3 separate regions of the Homo sapiens genome follow, and regions 1 and 2 are each linked to region 3. The links are contacts of gene promoters, found by promoter capture Hi-C in human tissues and cell types (Jung and others, 2019). All regions are on one chromosome and are shown on one strand. Each heading gives the region's core, a stretch centred on a gene start or on the middle of the fragment in contact. The rest is flanking DNA. Distances are from core to core; before and after follow the strand shown.

Evidence for each region. Contacts are between HindIII fragments. The study calls those that stand out against the background at their distance.
Region 1: a fragment that was not itself captured here is called in contact with the fragment with the promoter of PLCXD3 in region 3 in 2 of the 25 tissues and cell types used here (H1 embryonic stem cells and dorsolateral prefrontal cortex).
Region 2: a fragment that was not itself captured here is called in contact with the fragment with the promoter of PLCXD3 in region 3 in 3 of the 25 tissues and cell types used here (heart left ventricle, hippocampus and mesendoderm cells).

Annotation. Positions count from the first base shown.
Region 1 is chr5:41,291,582-41,294,281 of GRCh38, forward strand. The region is part of intron 1 of LOC124900969 (a long non-coding RNA gene); the gene reads left to right. The region is part of intron 1 of LOC102723740 (a long non-coding RNA gene); the gene reads right to left. Among named protein-coding and RNA genes, the nearest start is that of C6, 79 kb to the left of the region's middle. The HindIII fragment of the contact is 3,537 bases long and covers 1-2,700 here.
Region 2 is chr5:41,361,732-41,364,431 of GRCh38, forward strand. The region is part of intron 2 of PLCXD3 (phosphatidylinositol specific phospholipase C X domain containing 3); the gene reads right to left. Among named protein-coding and RNA genes, the nearest start is that of PLCXD3, 150 kb to the right of the region's middle. The HindIII fragment of the contact is 6,132 bases long and covers 1-2,700 here.
Region 3 is chr5:41,509,291-41,511,990 of GRCh38, forward strand. It overlaps PLCXD3 (phosphatidylinositol specific phospholipase C X domain containing 3), which reads right to left and starts at 1,311. Exons shown (of 3, transcript NM_001005473.3): 1 at 1,134-1,311. The coding sequence starts at 1,236. RefSeq lists an enhancer at 837-1,665. The HindIII fragment of the contact is 4,804 bases long and covers 1-2,700 here.

The DNA.
Region 1 (2,700 bases), core at 111-2,610, 220 kb before region 3:
ACTATGTTTGTATGTTATTGTGCAGATACATGTTTTAGCTAATCACTGAAAGCCACCACTAAGCAGCTGTCGATGGAAAATGCAGAGCAATCAAATCAAATCAATAAAGATGGCTGAGAGCAGTTGCAGAAAGAGGGTGGTACAGACTTCATATGGTCTGACCTGTTTCAGGCCACTTTGTGTTTTTGGCTTAAATACATTTATTGTAACCATTTTGCTATTGGTAAGTATTTCAGGAGTCTTGAAAAAATAGAATAACTTTTTTTCTTTCTTATAACTTCTATATTTAGTGCAAAGATCATGAGCTTTGGCATCAGGCAGTCCTGGGTTTAAATTCTACTTAGAGATTTTGTAATGCTGAGAACATTGTTATCCTTTAGGAGGCCTTGCTCCTTTTATTGCATGGTTATCAAGGTTGAAATAAATAACATGTTCAAAATAACCAGAAAGCTTGATAAATGTCAGTTTCTCATTCCACACACCATCCCTTGAGTTTTTACTTTTATTTTTTCTTTACCTAAACTCATTTACCTGGTTTTTCTGGTCTGTGGGGCCCTTGGTAACCTTCTTTAATTTCTAAGGTATTGGAAATTAAAGAAATTACTTTTCTACTTGAATATTGGGTTACAGATTCTCCAGAATTCTATAACTTAGGGAAATTTAAATCTTCTTTAAACATATTAGTAACTAGTAAAAGATACTAGTTCTCTATTTTTACTGATGAAGAGTCTGTTTCGACTGACTAAAATCTTTAGAATCCTTCTTTAATATGCTATATGGCCACAGTTGATCAATTTCTAGTTGAATATTGTAAGCTTAGGTGAACTAAGGTCATCTAGAATCTTATTGATTTAATATAGTGGGAGGGAGATAAATGGCTGAGAGAAAGATGGGCAATTATAATGGAGTCTAGTACAAAGATCATGGGATCTGTAGTCAAATCCTGGGTTAAAGCCATCTTTTGCTCATGTAAACTTGAATAGATAATTTAAAATCCCCAAAACTCAGTTTCTTTATTTATAAAATTGGATACTTAGTATACAATTATACAAAATAATTAGTAAACAGTCATACTAAATCATAGTATTTAGAATGCCTTCCCTGTATAAAGTATTTAAATTTTATACATGCATTATTTCATTTAACAGTCACAAAAACTTTACCAAAATTGGACACTAGAACTTTACTTAGTATCCAATTTTGGTAAAGTTTTTGTGACTATTAAATGAAATAATGCATGTATAAAATTTATATACTTTATACAGGCAAGGCATTCTAAATACTATGATTTACTTTTTTCACAACAGAAGGTAAAGTGTAGTTCCCAATTTAGGCCTTTTTCTTGCATATGCAAAGGAGTGTCTGATTATGTATCTGGGAAAGAATATAATGAAAAATAGAGGGCAGAGGAAAGGGGAAGAAAGCAAGCAATATTTTTTCAATTCTTTGAATTTCCTAGGGCATGATATTCTAACTCATGCTTATCTGGTAGATGCTTGGAGGGAAGGAAGATGACTTTGGGTGCATCTTCCATCATCACGGTGTCCGGAATTCCTGGATGCCTACCAGAGTAAACTGGTTCAGCTTTTTCTGAAGCAGACATTCCAAGCAACAAAAGAGGCTCCGTCCTACCCCTCACCCGTAGACTTGATCTGGTGTCTATTGAGCTGCTGGGATTGGACAAAAAGATGGATAAGCTGGTCCCAAAGATTTTTTTCTGAGATGGGGTCTTGCTATGTTGCCCAGGCTGGTCTGAAACTCCTGGGCTCAAGTGACCCGCCTGCCTCAGACTTTCAGTATTACAGGCATGGGCCACTGTGCCCATCTTCTACAAAGCTTTTAAGTGATAGGAACAGAGCCTAGTTTTAGCCCCATCCCAAGGGCCCCATGGGACATAGTGGAATTGACTGGGCAGTCATTTGCATAACCAGGTTCTATTCATTGTGATACCACTCCCTGAATTCTCCTACTCTGGTTACCATTCAGCATTGGTAATTGGGGTAGATGAGATGGAGGTAGGTATCTTAGAATTAATGAAAACTAGAAAACAAAAAGGATGATAGATGACTAATACCCTTTTAGCCCTCTGCTTACCTTCAACAACAATTCACTCTTCCTCTCTCAGCTGATAAATTTGCTTTCAATTTCACTGAGCAAACTGTGGCAATCAGAAGAGGTCCACAAGTTCCCACACCACATCTATCCACCAACTGGCATCCTCACCCTTATACTCACTTTCCTCTTGCTGTAGATGAGGTGTCCGTGTTCCTAGTAAGGACAGCCTCTTCAATTGTTTATCAGATTCCAGCCTTCTCACATTCTCAGGAATATTACTCCAGAAATGCTCCTCTCTTGCATCATCAATTTTTTTCTCCAGTTGAATTATTTTCATTCATCTACTTATATGCTATTATTTTAATAATCTCAAATAAACCCTCTCTTTACCCTATTTTTCCCTGTAGCCTATCACTCCATTTCTTTGCTCTCCTCTACCACAAAACCCCTAAAAAATATGGCATATAGTCACTTCTAGTTCCTCCTTTCTCATTCTCTTTTAAACCCACTCAAATTGTGTCTTTGTTTCTATCATTTTAGTAAAGATGCTCTTGTCAACAATGATTTCAAGTTACTAAATCCAAAGGTCAAATTCTCAATCCTCATTTTATTTGTCCTTTCAGCAGCATTCAACCTGATAAATCA
Region 2 (2,700 bases), core at 105-2,604, 150 kb before region 3:
CTGTCAGTTAATCTATTGTTTTATTTACCACATTAAAATAAAAAGTCTACATGATACAGAAGTAGTACAGTTACAATAAATATTTTACTTCATTGACTGCTTGAATATTGAACTAATTATCACAATTTTAATATACAAACTCTTGAATCATCAAAGCTCTCACAGATGAGAGTTAAAAACAAAACTAGAGATATAGAAAGTGGCTCTTTGGGCAGGCCACCAACTAGACCACCACGCTTACTTTCATGTTAGCCTGTCAGTTAGTACATTGACCAAGAGAGATAACCTGAAATTTGGATTGGTTTTTGCTCTATCCCTGAAGCTTTGGGGATTTAGAAATATTCTGGGCAAGAATCAGTGACACTCTTTGGAAGCCATTTTTACGTGTAAAAAGCTACTCATCTGACAGGACTTTTGTTTGTCCCTGAATTTGGAAGTAGACAAACATTTTCTTCTTTTTCATTTTGTAGTTAGAAAATGTGTGATACTTTCATATTACTTTTTTGAGTCACTGTGAAAAGAATTATATAATTTCAGATCTTCATCAGAGACAACTCAAAAAATGGAGTGATGTGTAGGGGGTGAAAAAAAGCAACAGAGACTTTGAAATCAGACTGACACATGTTTGAATCCTAGCTCTGCCACAGATGCTGTGCAAGGCTAGGTGAGTTGGTTTATTTGGCTAAGGCTCATTTCTTCCATAGGTAAAATAGAAATAAAAATATCTGCATCATTTAGTTGTTAGGAGGACTGAAATAAGAACATAAATAATATGTCTATTATAGTCATGCAAAAAATATTAGTTCTAATTCCAATCTCTTCATTTTACAATTGAGAATGTTAAAATCAGAAACCGACACCTTGAAAGTTAAACAAACTTCACCTTAGGTTTGTGGATGTCACTCCTGTTGTTTAAAATAACACAATAATTTAAATTACAAAAGATTTATGAGTTAAGTTTTAAATGTAGACATTTTATTTCGCTTTTTACTGCTTGCTATTTTACTGGGATACAGCAACTCCTGATCAACCAACCATGTAGTTTATTATAGTGCTGCGTAGTCCAGGAAGAAGAAATAAGGGCAATTCACTTGGTTTAGGGTCATTCTTTAATAATCAACTACCAGTAACAAGTCGAATCTCTCTCAACAGTTAGTGTTCATGAATGTCTACTTTGGCATCTCTTCCTGTTTCGGTAATAATTCAAATGAAACTAGTGTTTAGTATTTAGACATCATATGATCAGATTTTTTTTTACAACATATTATAGTACATATGTCCATAGAAACTGTCATTGTTACCACAGAATCAGCATAATGATGCTAGAAGAGGGGACAACTGCCTTTTCAGATAAGGAAACTGAAAGCAGATGAAATTAAATGACTTCTCCTGGCTTACAGAGTTAGTCGGTACATGGCAGCGCTGGGTTGAAAAACCAGGTAAATAACTGATTTTGACTTATCTTAGAAGTTACCACATGATGTGGAAATAAACCGTTTATTAATTTGTCTCTCCCACTGCAGGGTAACCATGTTGAGGATAAGGGGCTATGTCCTAATCATTTTAAAGTACAGTCACTAGCATACACTCAGTAAATGTTCTGTAAATATCTACTGCTTGATCCAAGTAATACAGATAATAATATATTTTTTTAAAAAGACTTTCTCCAAGAATTCAGGATATTTTCTCTTATCTTATTCTATGACAGATGACTCTAAAGTAGTGGAATTTTTTTTAACTGACATCCCAATACTTATAAGCTGAAGATGAGCTGTCATTCAGAATTATTACCCATGGAGATGACTGTTCACTTATCCCATCAATGACAGAATGACTCCGAATCTTTTTAAGACTCCTTTATTGAAATTGACTTTAGTATCTGTTCATGAGGAAAGAAAAATCCATCTCATTATTGTTTCACCTAGATTTTGACTCCAAAGAGCCTTCATTAGCTTTGCTCACTTACCTTATCTGCTAAACTTGAATGAGCCTAGCTTGTTTCAAAAAGCAATTTATCCTGAAAGGAGAAGGACTTATCCCTGACTAAAATTATTCTTAAAATTGCTTCAGTATCACTTGGATAAATGAGTAAATTCCCAAGGTGACTAATATGCAGGTGTCAGTAGACACTAAAAATGTGTAAGCTTTGTCATATTTGTTTAAATGAAAAACATGCCATATTTCTAAGTATTTTATGCTTCTCTAATCCCTGGACAGTTGGTATCATCTGTTTAATGTGTAAAGAAATAGAGCATCTGCAAAAGTAAATGACTGTCACAAGATTTTTTGTGCAGTGGCAGCTCTAGTCCACCAGTTTCCAGCCAGGGTCAACTCTGTATCCTCCTCCAGGGGTGGGCATGGGGGGAGGGCATTTGGCAATAACTGGAGACATTTTTTTCAGTCATAACTCAGGGGAAGGTGCTACTGGAATCCAGTGGGTAGAGGCCATGGATGCTGCCAAACATCCTACTATGCACAAGACAGCTTCCCGCAACGAATTACCTTGCTTAAAATGTCTATATTGCCGAGGCTGAGAAACCCTGTTCAAGGATAAGAATTCTCACCCTCAGTCTCTTCAGGATCCTTCACTACAATCAGTGTTAAGACCCCTGTGTCCTCATGTTTCCATAAGCAAAAGTGAGTGCATGTATTTTTCTTTGGTAATCAAAGAGTAAAATTTTTTTCCATGCTATTTTGCCA
Region 3 (2,700 bases), core at 61-2,560:
AACTGTTCATGAGTAATTTGCCCTCCAGCCCAGCTCTGAAAAGATCAAGTGTGTGCTCCCCCAGCCCAACTGCATAGCCAAATTGACAATAAAGTATGGCCGTGTCCCAGCTGTCATTGTTGTAAACTGTCCTGAAACGACCCTCACTCCTGGATACCTGATCTAGGGGGTTGTTAGGAGCTGCCACCCTAGAAACCTGCCCAGTCTCTGGTCCAAGTCGCACACATCAAGCTGAAGCTTCTTGATCCCTCAGGTCTCTTCCTCGCTTTGTCCACGCTTCTTTCCTTCTAGACTGTCTGGACACATTCTCAGTCACCTTTTCCGTACTATTTGCCTATTAATCCCACCCCTCCGCTCAGGTCACGCAGGTTCCCCTGCCCAGCTTCTGTCCCGAGCAGTAAACATACGGTCCGCAAGGGTTTGCTTTTTTGACCTGGGCGAAGTGTGTTGCCAACACGCACTTGGACCAGACTCGAGACAGCGGCCACTCGGCCAGGTCCCCCGGGGTCCAAACCGATACGAAATGGTGCCCTCTGCCCGTCGCCCCCTTGGGCTCCTTTTCAAGGGCAGCTATCACGCCGCCTCTGGTCCCTGAACTTTCATCACTCTTCGGGAAGCGCTTTGTCTTTTTAAAGGAGATTGGGGACGAATATTAATGACTGTAGCCGAGAATCTATCAAATCCGCCCAATTCCATGCCAGGGATAGACTCAGGTCCTTGCACCGAAGGCGAGCCCCTGACACTAGCTCGCGTTCTTCACACACGGTCACCCCGCAGACCCAGAGATTTCTCCCACTTCCCCAAATCTGCAGGAGAAACCATAGGAGGGGGTCACGAGGCACCATCCTGGAGCCCAGCTTCTCCTCTGCCCCAGTCCTCCGCATACAACCTGCTTCAAAAGCCCAGGAGAAAAGCAGTCACCTTGACTCTAGCGCCTCGGTCCTTAGGGGTTTGGAAAACGCCAGGAAGCCCAAGGCTACCCGGCACGCGCTCGCCTGGCCTGAGACCCACCCTGGAAGACGAGTTTCCCTCCCGCGGGCATCGTGGCAAGTTACCACTTAGTGGCAGATAAAGCAGGGCGGGGCAGGTGGAGCGGGCGCCGAGCGCCTAGCCCGCAGCCCCTGCGCGCCTACCTGGAATGGCTAAATTGGTGAGGGGGATGCTGTGCATGCTCTCCGGCAGAGTTGCCATCCAGTCGGCTAATTTCAGCTCGTTTTTCCCCTGAGACGAGGCCATCGTGCCAGTCGGCGTGCAGCGCGCTGGTCCCAGCACTCCTCGGGCAGGCTGGCAGGCTGCTGCCGCTAATCCAATGTTTGCTCTAGCCCCGCTAGAGTTTACACTCCTCTCTGCGCCACACCCACAGGATGGCGCAGACACATGCTAATTTTAATAATTATTCAAAACACCCCGTGCTCCCTTAGTGCCTCCGCCAGACTCCGCTGGAGCTTTTGTTCCTGACGTCCGTGCTCAGCTCTCTCCGCTCTCCCCTCCCTCCCCAACCCCCTCCTCCCGTCTTATCCTTCCTAGGCGTCTCTGCCTTTCCTCGCCATTCTGCAGCTTTCCCTGGTTTCTTATTTTTCTTTTCTATTCATTTTTTTCCAACTGCTTTGCCCATGGCTTGCTCGATCCTTTGCTGTGACTTTCTCGTCCTGTTTGTATGAAAGACAGTCTTGCACTTGAACCTAAAATCCTAGCAGACTTTGGGATGTTATTGCCTCCTGAGGAACAGACTTCTCATGCTGGGTTTCAGGGCTTTCCGTCCTTATCAAAGAGCTTTCCTTTTTGTAATCTACAACAGGTTATACCTTTCCTCAGCCAGAGACCACAACCCTGTTTATTAAAAAATGATTATCTTTATTCACTCTTTTGCCTACTTTGTGAAATAGCTGGTAAGTATGAGTCAGTGAAGGGCATGGTAAATTCTAGGTGGTTCCTACTTAATCCTGGGTACCTTGCTCCAGACATTTCAAAGTCAAGAAATGCTACTCCCCCTTCTTTTCTCAGATCATGAGAAGTCTACATTATTTCCATGGAGAACACTGCCTCTGTCCTGTCAGTTTCATGGCACTCAGGGTAAGACTGGAGCCTTATGCTGGAAGAAAATCGCCACATCTCCCAGTGACATGCTCTAATTATTGCCAGTAGCATTTGGTGGAATGTATTTGGCACCATTCAAAGTGATCTATGTGACTGTCTGCATTTTCATTCCTTTGCAGACTGGAAAGATGTGCCTCTCTCAAGAGAAATCACTCACTGGGCCTCCAAAGAACTGTCTGGGTCCACCTGCTCTCAGATGAGTAAAAGGAGAGAGATGAAGTTTTACAAATGTAATGAGAGCAGCAGTGGCCTGAATAGGAATTATAAGAGATGAACTGAAAGTGTGCTGGGCTTTTGCAACCCAGGAAATGGAAATGCAATAAACAGACCTCTGTTCTTTCATGCCAGGGTTGTGTAAATTTTTATTTTTCTATGGGAAATGCTATTAGATTGCGGAAATGACAATCAACATAGGAGACAAAGAGAGCCATGAAACATGAGAATAATTATTCAAGGTTAGTAAATCCATTTAATCCCAAATAGCATTAAAAAATAAGAAAAAACCTAGAGCCTACCTTATTTTCTACAATGATGCTAAGTCCTAAGAATATTCACCCCCAAATGGGGAGCACTATGGGAAAGATAGAGGAGAGGCAACGCCTT